5 separate regions of the Homo sapiens genome follow, and all the other regions are linked to region 1. The links are contacts of gene promoters, found by promoter capture Hi-C in blood cells and fetal thymus (Javierre and others, 2016). All regions are on one chromosome and are shown on one strand. The core of a region is centred on a gene start or on the middle of the fragment in contact, and the rest is flanking DNA. Distances in the headings are between cores, read along the strand shown. Region 1 holds the start of FLJ42393 (a long non-coding RNA gene). Region 2 has its middle 67 kb from the start of BCL6. Region 3 overlaps LPP (LIM domain containing preferred translocation partner in lipoma). Region 4 overlaps LOC105374264 (a long non-coding RNA gene). Region 5 has its middle 59 kb from the start of LINC01991.

Evidence for each region. The method cuts DNA at HindIII sites, captures the fragments that hold promoters and counts their contacts. A CHiCAGO score of 5 or more calls a contact.
Region 2: a fragment that was not itself captured here is called in contact with the fragment with the promoter of FLJ42393 in region 1 in 1 of 17 cell types (neutrophils); the score reaches 5.1 in neutrophils.
Region 3: a fragment that was not itself captured here is called in contact with the fragment with the promoter of FLJ42393 in region 1 in 1 of 17 cell types (total B cells); the score reaches 5.0 in total B cells.
Region 4: a fragment that was not itself captured here is called in contact with the fragment with the promoter of FLJ42393 in region 1 in 1 of 17 cell types (neutrophils); the score reaches 5.4 in neutrophils.
Region 5: a contact is called between a fragment that was not itself captured here and the fragment with the promoter of FLJ42393 in region 1, in 1 of 17 cell types (fetal thymus). The highest score is 5.1, in fetal thymus.

What each region holds. Positions count from the first base shown.
Region 1 is chr3:188,177,255-188,179,811 of GRCh38, forward strand. It overlaps FLJ42393 (a long non-coding RNA gene), which reads left to right and starts at 1,289. Exons shown (of 1, transcript NR_024413.1): 1 at 1,289-2,557. All of the region lies in intron 1 of LPP (LIM domain containing preferred translocation partner in lipoma), which reads left to right. RefSeq lists an enhancer at 2,053-2,557. The HindIII fragment of the contact is 11,595 bases long and covers 1-2,557 here.
Region 2 is chr3:187,811,380-187,813,936 of GRCh38, forward strand. No RefSeq gene overlaps it. Among named protein-coding and RNA genes, the nearest start is that of BCL6, 67 kb to the left of the region's middle. The HindIII fragment of the contact is 4,554 bases long and covers 1-2,557 here.
Region 3 is chr3:188,519,263-188,521,819 of GRCh38, forward strand. The region is part of intron 5 of LPP (LIM domain containing preferred translocation partner in lipoma); the gene reads left to right. Among named protein-coding and RNA genes, the nearest start is that of LPP-AS1, 48 kb to the right of the region's middle. The HindIII fragment of the contact is 4,102 bases long and covers 1-2,557 here.
Region 4 is chr3:187,875,075-187,877,631 of GRCh38, forward strand. It overlaps LOC105374264 (a long non-coding RNA gene), which reads right to left. Exons shown (of 3, transcript XR_924813.3): 2 at 1,933-2,048. Among named protein-coding and RNA genes, the nearest start is that of LINC01991, 100 kb to the right of the region's middle. The HindIII fragment of the contact is 8,295 bases long and covers 1-2,557 here.
Region 5 is chr3:187,916,254-187,918,810 of GRCh38, forward strand. No RefSeq gene overlaps it. Among named protein-coding and RNA genes, the nearest start is that of LINC01991, 59 kb to the right of the region's middle. The HindIII fragment of the contact is 1,279 bases long and covers 650-1,928 here.

The sequences.
Region 1 (2,557 bases), core at 39-2,538:
GGTCCCCCTGTGCCAGTAGACAGACCCAGGCCTGGGAAGGAGGGCTGGTTGAAGTGAGATGGATACCAGTCTTGGAGCATGGTTGGAGAATCTGTCCAGGGTGATGGCATCTGTTTTGGATTGGGGCCTTGAGGCACATTTTCAGTTCTGCTCCCTGGACCAGCATAGGAGGGTGGCAGACAGTACAGTGATTTGAATACAGGATTGATCCTGCCACCTTGATTTCTGCCTTTATTTAGCGGCAAAGACACTAGATCAGAAAAGTACTGGATGTGATTGCTGTAGTCTTTCATGATTGATTTAGGAGCTGGGAGAGGCCTGGCTAGGAGTTGGAGGATCCCTGGGAAGATGAAGATTAGGTCTTACGTGAGCCTCAGCCCTCTCCTCTGTAAAATGGGAGTAATGATGGTAATTATGCTGATGTTACCTATTCTGACTGGAGTAAGGATTAAAGTACTTGTCTGGAGGAAGGCACTTCATGGTTAAAACATGAAAAGAGAAGTGCACAGTGTTTTTATTACAGGGAAACACCAAAGAGCTGGAAAGGAATGAGGGCTGGAGAGATGGAGCTGCCCTGAGGACTCTGGGAGGTCATCCTGGGGGCAGAACTTTGACAGTTGCTGCCCGAGGTGGGACAGGGATGCTGGGAAGATGTGACGATGTGCATAAGTGTGTCATGTTCAAGATGGTTCTAAGCCCTGGCCAATTCCATACATGCTCTTTTCCTTTCTCATCCATAGAGGTTTTGGCAAAGGCATACTTGGGAGTGTTGATATAGCTGACACTGCAGCACCCTCAGTTTACAGGTGTGAGAAGAGTGAGGCTCCCACAGTCTCACTTGGACAGGTAGTCAGGGCTCTGATGGAGCTCCTGGAGTTTCTAGGTTCTCTGTCACTTGATAGTCAGTGCTGGGAGGGACCTCAGGGAATCAGCCAATTTCACAGATGGGGAGAGTGAGGCAGGTTGGGAATTCTGGCCCCAGTGGAGGGCACCACATGCCCACAGGGAAATGTCTTTCCCAGCCCCCTCCTCATGCTTCTCCTCTTTTCTGTCTGGAAGTCCTAGTTCTCCTCCTCACGCTGAGACCCAGGTAGGGTGATTGTCCATGTTTCTTCATTTATCTGTTTTTTTTCTGTTGCCCAGGGACTACTCTAAGCACCATGCTGGTTGCTGACTGTTCGCTTTTGCAAGATCTTGGAATCTCTGTTTGTTCACATCACAACTCAAGAGGATACGTTCTCATTCTCCCAATGTTTGTCTTCTGCCCATTGCATCAAATTGCTCTTCCTTGTTTGGAATTAAACTTCTAGCAATCATTTACCTTTATGGTTCTCTTAACTTCAGGTCACACTGTTGTTTAGTCAATGTGAGAATCTTTCAGATGTTCTGCACTTTGCAAAAGGATATTCACAGCCAATGTGTGCGGCAGTGAAGGACACTTGTTGATTCCTTATTTATTGTCTGCTGTTCCAGGGACCGGGGACTAGAGGTGAATAAAGCCTTGTTTGGGCTGTCTAGGATGTTGTGATCGACACAGGAAACAGACATGAAAGCCAAATTGGCGCAGTGGGTGAAGTATTGTAATACTGGTCTCTGTTTATGATATATGGAAGAAGTTTCCTAGTAGCAGGGTGGGTGAGAGAGTCCATCATCATTGCAGATTGGTGCCTCTGTGGACATGCAGGTATATTAGGCCAGAGGTGGGGAGTGGGAGAGAGAGGGAGAGAGAGAGCACGACAAAGAGAGAGAGAGAGAGTGAGCAAGAGAGAGGGAGGGAGAGAGACAGAGAGAGAGAGAGAGAGAGAGAGAGAGTGAGCAAGAGAGAGGGAGGGAGAGAGACAGAGAGAGAGAGAGAGAGAGAGGTTTTGAGAGCATTGATATGGGGTCTACATATTCCCCCCGGCCCCCATTCCCTATTATCATAGAAGCATGCTGCCCTCCAAGGCTTTTGAATTTGCCACCGTGAAGAGCATGCATGGAATCTTCGGCTGTGGCCTTGCATTGCCCCCTGTCTTCGCAGCGGAGCTTCTTTATCTGACCCGTGCATGTGCCTCTGATGAGCAGCCCTTCATCACAGCTCTGCGGCCTCCTCCTAGGCCCCCGCCTTCAGCTCTCCAGTTCATTTCCCGCCTTGTTCCCATTGCCACCTGCGGGCTTGGAGGGCCACCTGACATTCTGTCCTTTGGGTCCCCTGTGACTCCAGAGCTCCTTCCCTTCTGGGGCGCCCACATCTGCGACACGCTTGTTTGCCCAGTGCATTTTCTACACTTAGAGTTCCTCTCGTGCTCTCATATTTCCATTTAAAGCCCTCTCGAGAGGTCTGTCTCCTGCCAGCAGCATTCCTTCTAGTTTACTAGAACTCCATTTCTCATCCTGCCAGGAATCCAGCCGTGGAGTGAGCTTCAGCAAGCCTCTCTGCAGTCTCTTGTCTGCTCCAAAACTGTGGCCTCTGGTTGTGAGAAATGGGCATCCTGAGTCAGTGAGAGCAGTAGTTAGCTTGCAGCAGCTTCCCCTCTCCCCCTGAGTGAGCCTTTCTTCCTCTTCCTCCTCTTTCATT
Region 2 (2,557 bases), core at 17-2,516, 370 kb before region 1:
GACAGGAAACCTGGAATGCTTCTGAAACATTGACTGGAAATCTTACTCAATGTTAAGAGATCTTAGTGTATCTTTACATGGTAACATTTCTAGACCAGATAGGCAACGCTTAAAGAGAAATCTATACTCCTTTCCTACTTTCAATTTCATTCTCATTAGCTGCTTTGATTTTCTTGCTGGTGACTCTCAGCTGCTATGGATCCTTATTATTGGGAAGTACAGTTAGTCCATGATGGGGTTCTAAATTGAAGTAACTGATAAAGTATGAGAATATTAGGGCTAGAAGAAAACTTAATGATACTCTGGCCATATCTTCAGTTTCCAGTTGAGTACAGTGGGTCTGAGAGAGGTTGAGTGACTTCAGGCAGGGTCACTGGGTACACTATGGACTGCAAAACATTGAATTGCCCCACCACGTGAAAGGAGGTTCCTTCCATCTGACAATGACAAACCACTTCCCTTTGTAATACTTAGGTGTCTTTTATGAATTATTAATGGATTGTGCCCAGTTCTACAGAGCCGAATGTGTATTGCAGCCTAGTCCTAACAAATCCACTGACATCTGCATGAGGTATGGATCATGAGATATCCTCGCCATCTTTTGTTTCATGGAAAGACCAGTAAACAGAAGTCAGGGGAATTTTCCAAGATTACATGGTGAGTCAGCAAAGGCTCTGGGGCAACAAGCTGTTACTGGATGAGGAATCGGAAGATACAAATTCCAGTCTTCACACTGTCTCTAATCATGTGGGAGATCTTGGGCAAGCCACTTCTGTCTCTGAGTCTCAGTTTCTTCACCCATAGAAGGGCTTTTCAGGATGGCCTCTAAGAACCTTTCAGCTTGCTGTGGCCTATGGATCTAGAATACAAGGTTCAGAGCTATTTAATGTCTAAAATATGATTGTGCAAAGCCAGAGATTGCCACAATGATACACCCTCAGAATTCTGGGTTTTGCCTCCAAAATTGGAAGTGTCTTAGCAATTTGTGTGCAAATAATAATAGTAGTAACAATACTTTTTTTTTTCTTAAATTATTTTCAAGCTCTTGGTGATTGCAGTACTTGTCTGCTTGCAAGGACAATCATATAACACAACAAACTAATAACAGACAATGAGAGAACTCAGAAATATGATATCTTTATTATTTTTACTTTTTGAAAAATAATAAGAAAAATAAATGGTATTTATGGAAAACTTACCATATGCCATGCAGTTTATATGTACCATCTGTTTTAAGATCTATGAACAGTGTTATCACGCCCTTTGTATAGATGAAGAAACTGAGATTCAATGATGAAATAATTCATCCGCTACGTACACAACTATTAAGCAATAAAGCCCAGAGTTGAAACCAGCTTTCTTGACTCCAAAGCTGATGTTTCCCACAATTACAGGTTGCATACATAAAATAATACTGCCTTGTTTGTTAGCAAAAGTGTTTTTCCATAAGAAAAGAAAATTAAATGTTCCATAAGAACATTTTATTGGACGTGACAAAGAACACCACCACGGCTTCCCTGGGATGCAACATTTGAACATCTTTGAAAACAGACCAAAAAGTTTGAGGCATTAGTCTGACTTTCCCCCAGTAATTTAGGAGGGATAGATACCTATGTCTAGAATTATTCCATTCAGAAATATTTATTAGTATGTCCATAAGATCTAGGGCCAGGTGGCCATTTCTTGTTTGGAATTTGCATAATTTCACATATGCACTAGACCTTTGTCTTGACCCACTCCCTATTTATTCAATCCTGTAATCCTCCTAGAGATATAGGGCAATATTAGAGCAGACTTGAAGAAACTGTTTCTGATTCAGAGTCTCCCCTAAGAGGGGAAGTGTGTATAAGGTCCCCTCAAAGTCATCCATACAAACAATTTCTAAGCCTATAGACCAATCCAGGACCAGATCCCGTATGTTCATTCATCCAACATTTCTTGACAGCCTTGGATGATTCCAGCACAGTGAAAGACTAATGCTTCCAAGACAAATAAGATTTAGCCTTGAGCTGACCTTGGACACCTAATCTAGGCCAGGCCTAGACTCCAGGAACAACCATGGGCAGCTCCATTTTACCAGCTTCCAAGGTCTAGAAATAAAAGTGAAGTGATATGACAGAAAGTCCTGCATTTTCTGTTTGGGCTTTCACCAGAATGAAAATTACTGTACCCCTTTTGTCATGCTATAATTGCCAAGAACCAGATAATGTTAAAGTTGGAAGTGACACTAGAGATTTAGTTGTCACTTCTGTTCCAATCTCTCCTTTAGAGATGAGGTTACTGAGGTTCAGAGAGTGAAAAAATCATCTAAAGTCACCAACAGAGCATGGGGCAAGGCTGGAATTAAAACCCAGGTCTCCTGGCTCCAGGCTCAATGCTCCTTTCACTGCTATTGTTTAATTGCCTTGGTAATGGGAAAGACATTAGCCGAGAAGAAAAAGAAGCCAGTCTTTGTTAATGAAAAAATGTGATTCAATGGATAGGTGGATCTGTGCTTCCTCTAGCTACCATGGCTCATGGTTATGTTGGGCTAATTCCATCGCCTAGTAGCAAAATG
Region 3 (2,557 bases), core at 27-2,526, 340 kb after region 1:
GATGGGATGCAGCAGAAGGGATGTGGCCTCACGCATGTGATATTCCTGCCTGACTTATTTAATCTGAATCCAGTCATCAAGAAAAACCAGATTGGTTGGACTTTTTATAAGACACCTGACCAGAATTATTTTAAAAGTTGGCTTTATAAAAATCAAAAATCAGCTAGGAGCCTGTTCTAAATTAAAAGAGAATAAAAAGACATATCATTTTATGATGTGATCCTTGGATTTGGGGTGAAAATTAACAGTAGATAAAAGAACACTACTGGCACCACTAGTGAAATGTGAGTATGGGTGATATTAGATAATACTGTTTCTATGTTAAATTTCTCCAGTGTGAGAATGGTTTTGAAAAAATTAGAAATTCTTAGGAGATGCAAACTGAGGTGCATATGGGGGATGTCGGGGGGTGGTTTTGCAACATCTTACAGATGGTTCAATTGCAACAGCAAATCTAATTTATGTAGACAGAAAGCTAGTGTGATGAAATGGTGGCCACTGATGAATCTGGGTGAAGGATGGGTGAGTGGAGTTTATTTTAATAGTTGTTCAACTTCTCTGTGAATTTAAATTTTTTGGATATAAAGAATGAAAAAGTAAATAAATACAAATGAATGCTCTTTCATAACCAATTGCTGGTACTCCTCGTCTATCACCTGTAGTTAGTGGGTTAGTGATAGTTGGCCTGAAATATGACCCATTCAAAATCAGACTCTTGATAATGGCCTAAGTTCATTTCATTCACACGCTGTACATTTTGGTTCTGGGCTATTTATTGGACTGTCTTTATGTACTTACAGTGGGGGAGTCATCATCCTATAATTCTGCTGGCAGCACTTATTATGATTTGTCAAGTCATAATAAGTCCCAACTGTGGTTTGGTGAGCTTTTTATCACATATGTATTCAGATAATGCATAAAAATAAATATAAAAATAACATGTTCGAATGGTTTATTCATAGGATTTTTGTGGTCCTTGGTAAAGGGACGCTGTCAGTAGACACCTTTGGTGCCCCACCTCGCATCTTCCCCTCCCACCTTCGTGTACCAGCAGCTGCTACAGCGATCAGCTCTGCACAGGTGTGACCTGGTAGCACTTGGCTTCAACTGCAACACCTTTCACTCACTTTCTGTGCCGGGCCTTCTCTGCAACCATTTAACTTCTGAGACTTGTGAGACTTATTCACAACCAGGAGAACAGTATAGGGGAAAATGCCCCCGTGATTCAATTATCTCCCACACGGTCCTGCCCACAACACATGGGGATTATGAGAACTACAATTCAAGATGAAATTTGGGTGGAGACTCAGCCAAACCATATCTCCTTCCTTCTCTGCTTAACTCCTTCTAGTCCCTCAGTACTGTTTCTCAGAATTGATTCCCAAAATAAATGGCCAACATGCGAGCTTTTCTCACAGGCATTGTTTTTCTTGGCAGAACACAGACTAAGACGATGTAATCTTTGAAATCTCTCTAGTGATGGTTAAAGAGTGTGGGGATTGTTATAATTACATTAACTACTTTATAAAAGTTTGTGGTGGTAACTAGAAAAAGCATTAGTCAGGAGAATCTTCCTTGTTGCTGGCATTGGGAAGGTCATTTACCAGTCAGGTAACTAGCACAGCTACAAAGATAGGGAGTTAGGAGAAAGACATGTTGGTAAGTCTATAGGATTCTGTTGCTTGGTTATAGGACTTTGGATCCTGGTATCTACTATAAGGGATTGAGAGTAGCAAGATCCCCTAAATCGAAAGGTAAATGAATATCTACAGATTCGTGGCAGGACTTGGGCAGGACAACAGTTATTTGAACTGAGATATAAAATTGAGACTCAAGAGTGAAAAAAAGGCCTATTCTAATTCATAATGGAATTGAAATGTAGGAGTAAAGCTACTATAGTATTTGCACAATCTTCTCCCCTCTCACCCCACGCTCCCCTGTTATCCAGTTTTTGTGCAAAATCACACAGCATTAGACTGGAACTTGTGATAAATTGCATCAACCTAATTTGAGAAACTGAAAATAGGGAGCAGTCTGAACTTAGAGGGTAGGGAGAATAAGGACCCTGGAAACTAATTGATGTCTTACAAGCACAGACTGGTTGCATATCATAATTACTTGTTTTATTGTGTAGTTCAGGGTAATTCTGTGACTTGTTGAGTCTCAGTGGTTAGATATTGCAGTGACTTCAGGCATAGTCAGTTGATGTACTTTCTGCTTCAGTAAAGTACAGATGTAGAAGACCTGATTAAATCCTGTCTCTTTACTAATACCCCAAGGGAACACTTAATGAATGATGCTTCCCTCAAGAAGAAGAATAATTAACAATAGCTATATTATTCATATTAATTTATAGTTACTGGTTGCTATAATTAATGCTATTTAGGAAAATCATCATAATTATAGCACTTTACAACTTACAGAGTATTTTCCCATCCATTTTCTTATCTAAATCTTATAACATCACCCTGGCTTAGATAGAACATGTGATATTCTCTTCATTTTATAGATGAGAAAACTATGGCCCAGGGAAAGATTTAAGCAGACAACACTCTAC
Region 4 (2,557 bases), core at 30-2,529, 300 kb before region 1:
CAACGATGGATACAAATCCGTTTTCAAAATATCTTCTGGACAGGTTATTTTGTCCTTTGTTGACTTCCTGTCAGCTCAGGTTAGATGATAATTGCTTTTATCTTGTCACATGGCTGGCAGAGTTTTTACCAGGAGTAGAAAGGGTTAACTCTGCCATTTCCTTGTTGTCTGGTTGTGTTTGCAACGTAAGTATTATCTTCAATCTACTGTTTGCAGAGGTTTTCTTTTTCTTCTTTTTTTTGAGACAGAGTGTCCCTGTGTCTCCCAGGCTGGAGTGCAGTGGCGCGATCTCAGCTCACTGCAAGCTCCGCCTCCCGGGTTCACACCATTCTCCTGCCTCAGCCTCCCGAGTAGCTAGGACTACAGGTATTCGCCACCACGACTGGCTAATTTTTTTTTTTTTGGATTTTTAGTAGAGACGGAGTTTCACCATGTTAGCCAGGATGGTCTCGATCTCCTGACCTTGTGATCCACCTGCCTCGGCCTCCCAAAGTGCTGGGATTACAGGCGTGAGCCACCGCGCCGGGCCTGCTTGCAGAGGTTTTTTAAGGCAGAAATCATTTTAACTCACTGAAGTCCATTTTGAAAGATTAGGTTAATGGAAACTGGATAACATCATCCATAGATCCGCTTGATGGGGCTCTTGTAAACTGATGAATGTGACGATACACTGAGAGTTCAAGAAAAAATAAATGTAGATTGCCACATGGTTCAACTCCTCTTCTCAGGTGAGAGGTATTTCTCAGGTGTCATAAAGCATGCAATTGTCAAATGCACATACAAACAGCAATATAGGCAGTAGTGCCCGTGCACTTATTAAACATTCATTCAGTTGTCTTTCTTTTCTAAATTTAAAATATAAACAATTCTTGGTGGTTATGTAATTCTACACATGCAAAAAAGTTGCATAGAAGCACACACACACAAATAAGTGCATATAAATACGGGAAATACAAACAGACTCTGGCTTGTACTGATGTCCATTTCCTTGTTTTAACAAGACTGCAGTTATGCAAGATGCTACCACAGAGGAAAAGTAGGTGAAGGGTGCAGTGAGACCTCTCCATTTTCTTTCGGCAGCTTCTTGTGAAGTCTATAATCATTTCAAAAATTACATAAATAGAAGTTCTAACATCCTGGCATCCCAGTAGATTCGCTGCACCTCCAGGAGACTGCACCCTGTTGGAGCCATGGCCTTGGTTCACCGTGAGACCTGGAGGGAGGCATTTCCACTCTTGAGGCTAATTTCCCTCATCTGTAAAATGCACAGTTTGGCCCAAAGCTCCACTCAGCTCTAAAATTCTAGGATTGTATATGCACAGTTTGGTGTAGGGAGGTGTAAATCTCACTCAGATTATGAGCCAGCTCTAGGTGGTGAAGGGAAATGTGCTCAGCTGTTTGATATAAAGTCTGCTTTCCTGGAAAATGAACTTGGAGCCATTTACCTCTTCCCATTGGCTCCTTCAAAGGGTTTTCTGACTAAGGAAACACAGAAAGTTTGAAAATATTTTCATCAAATACCTTGAAAACAGCATCACCAAAACCAAATAAAAGGAAAAGGTAACATTACTTGCTGAAGATGATGACCTCTCTACTGAACCTTCAGAGTTGATTTAGAGCACATGGAAGCTATTCTCTGCTTCCCTGACCTGTTTAGGCTGCTCAAAATGCTAGGTGCAGAGGAAAACACCCTTTTGGCAGCCAAGATGGAAGAGATATAAGTGGATTTGTAGTAAGAGTCTGGGCCTGCAGAAATTTGTGTCACCCTGACACTGAAGAGGGAAAGTTGATTGTTCTCCAATGCACAGCAATTAAAAGCTCATCTCTGGAGAAAGTCGGGAGGCAGGGGTTACATATATATATATATGTATTTTCACATCTGCAGACAATTTTTTAACCCTGGTAACTGATTGATTGGGATAATGTATTTACCTTGGATATGGAAAGCAGGAAGAACAGTTCTTGCGTGACTTTCAAGGTAGTCTATACCTTCAAGTGTTTTCAGCTATGTATCTTCTTTTGATCTTCTCTATTTTCTTGGATTTATCCTACAAAAATAACCACATGTTAATGAAAAGATAAATATATAAGTTTGCTTACTGCCACAGTGTTTGAACTTTAAAAGTCTGGAAACAATTTAAATGTCCAACAATAGAGGACTAGCGAAATTATGCCAGTGGTTTTAAACTTGACTAATGAATCAATAAAATAAGAAGAAATGACATAAGATTGACATCTTTAATTTTGTGTAATAAACATTTAAAAATACTAGTAAATAAAAATACTATTGTCCCATCAAATAAAGGATATTTTGACACCGAAAGTAAAGGGAATCCCATCACAATAAAAGGCCTCACCAGAGAAAAGATCATTGGCAAACCATGCCAACATATGAGAGTAGAGCAAGAGGGTCCTTAATGCAAAAAATGGCAAAATCTGAATAGAGTGTATAGATTAACATTAATATTGTATCAATGTTAACTTCATAATTTTGCTAATTATACTGTGGTCGTGTTAAAAGAATATCCTTGTTTTTAGGAAATACACCCTGAAGTAT
Region 5 (2,557 bases), core at 39-2,538, 260 kb before region 1:
CAAACCGTATTGATAGGGTAAGTTCCTAGAGTCCCCGAGCAAACAGGCCATTTCTCCTCCAGCTCTCTGTTTCCTGCTGTGCAGAAACTCTGCATAAAGGTAAGAGTTGGTCTGCTAAAAAGATCCCTGGTCTTAGCCCCAGAATATTTGGGTTCTAGTATCAACTCTAACCCCTCACAGACATGAGGCTATAGTGACATTCCCTCTCTGGGCCTTAATTATCTTTTACAGAAAATGATGAAATTAGGCATATTTTCTTCGTGGTTCCTGTCAGAACTAATGCTCTATGAATTGAATTTGTTCAGACACCAAATTGGCTAGTTAAGAATTCGATTCTTTTCTTCTTTCCCCTGATGTTCTTGAGGAAAAAAATAATAACAAAATAATGACTTACTCTATACCAGGCACTATGATAATATGTTTATGCTTATTATTTCACTTGCCAACAAACTGGTATGAAGGAAGAAATGATTCAACTCAACTGCAGCAGCAGTTCCAGCGATCTGGTTGGGAGTTAATACTGATGCAGCCCAATTGTCCCCACCTCCTGCATTTCTACCTCAAATCCTTGAAAATGACAAGTCGCGATCTTAACAATGGTATTAGGTGCTAATAGATCCTGAAGTACCTTATGGATCATAAAAAAAAAAGCTTAAATCATACCCACTATCATTTTAGTGATTAGCAAAGTGTGTTGTAATTTACTTATTTTGAAACCAAGAATCAGTAAATGATATGGAGGGTAACCCAATGAACCAGAATTTTCCATTGCTCAGAATGCCCCATTTCCTAGCCATTTTGGATAAACAGGAATTTACTATGGCATTAGAATAATAATAGCCTACAAGGACTAGATTCTGGTAGCTGTAGCCTTGCCAACAGTCCAGCAATGTGTCCACTGCAGAGATCACTGTCCACTCCAGCCGGGTATCACCAGGGCCCAATCAGACTCCTTTTCAGAAATCATGGGCGGTGTTTCCATGGAGCTCTGCCCGAAAAGAGGTGATCTAAATCTTGCATGAGAGATGTACATCAACAGGGAGCTTTGCCTAGAACACTGTGACCTAAAAAATCATATTAAGGAACTCAGAATGCAGAGTCAGTTTCACAGACACCAAGTGACCTTGTGCAAGGCACCTCACGTATTGCCTCGCCTTCTTGACACCCCCTAATGAATGGTGACAGCGACACGCCCCAGCCGGCTGGGGCAGGCATTCTGATTTTCACTGCTCTGTTTCTTTTTCTTTCTCTCTCTCTCTCTGTTTTTTTGTTTTCGTTTTTTTTTTTTTTTTTTTTTTTTTTTTTTTTTTTTTTTAAGGCAGCCTGCTCCTTATATTAATCATCTTGCTGTTTGTTTAGTTCTGGGAAGGCAAGCACTGATTCACAAAGGAAAATCTCGCCTAGTGGTCAGATTGAATAGTATCTTTGCTACATTTCGGTTTGAAGATACCACCCAATTTATTTTTGATATTTCTTATATAAGGTTGCACATGATACATTTCTTGTGGAGTTTAGGGCTAGAAAGGGCTGGGTCCCCCTTGATCCATAGCTATTCTTCCTTTACTAGAGGAAGAGGGCTGTGAAATGCAATGCATGTTCCTTTCTTGTCTAAGCTGCTGGGAAGCTCAAAATCACATCATATGCTTGATTAAAATTATTCTTATTCTGTGTTTTTTTCTTCGAGCTGTCCTTTCATGACAAGGTCTTAATCTTTCATCTGTGTTTTAATGATCCTGTAATTTCTGTGACTAACAGTATATGTTACTTCAAATCCTTTTTTAAAGTAAGTGGCATGCAAATAAATCAATAATGCGGACAACTATGTTTTATAAAAACTTTGCAGATAAGAAAATCGGAAAGATTAAACCTTATTCTATGATGAAGTCTGAAATTTCATTTCTAACACAAATTAATCATTAATATTTAAAAGCTTATACATAGTAATAGCTATGAACCTTTGCATATCCCTTACCATTTATAAGGCAAACGCTTTCACATATGTGATCTCATTTTGTAATTAGCATTCACACTTTACAGATGAGGAAAGTGAGGCTTAGTGAGATTAAGTTAGTAAACTCAGATCTTCTGACCCTAGGCCAAGTCTCGAGTTGTTCTCCCCACCCCGCCCCCAACATCACTTTGCCTCTCATTGTCTTCTCATTTAAATCAGCATTCTTCTCACTACCTCTAGACAAACGCTTTGTTTTTTTAATGTGTCCATCAGAATTAAGCAAAAAAGCCATTTCAAGTGTTTATTTCTCTTACTGGGAGGGTATGCAAAAAGTTTGGAAACCACTGATTTAAGGTCTAAAGGGTCAAGCTTGAAGCTTGGAGTGGTCACTTCTAGAAGATCTGAACTCCCTGTCATCCTGGGGTTCCCTGTGTCAGTTTAATGGGGCAGGGGGAGACATCCAGTCTCTAACATACTTTTCTTTTCTAAATAAATGTAATGCCTAAGTGACACACAGATACCTGTAATACCTGTTGACACCAAATCAACAGATTGCTGGGAGAGTCAAGGAGAAGAAAGTTTCGTTACTCCCTAGGGCTTGTTGGT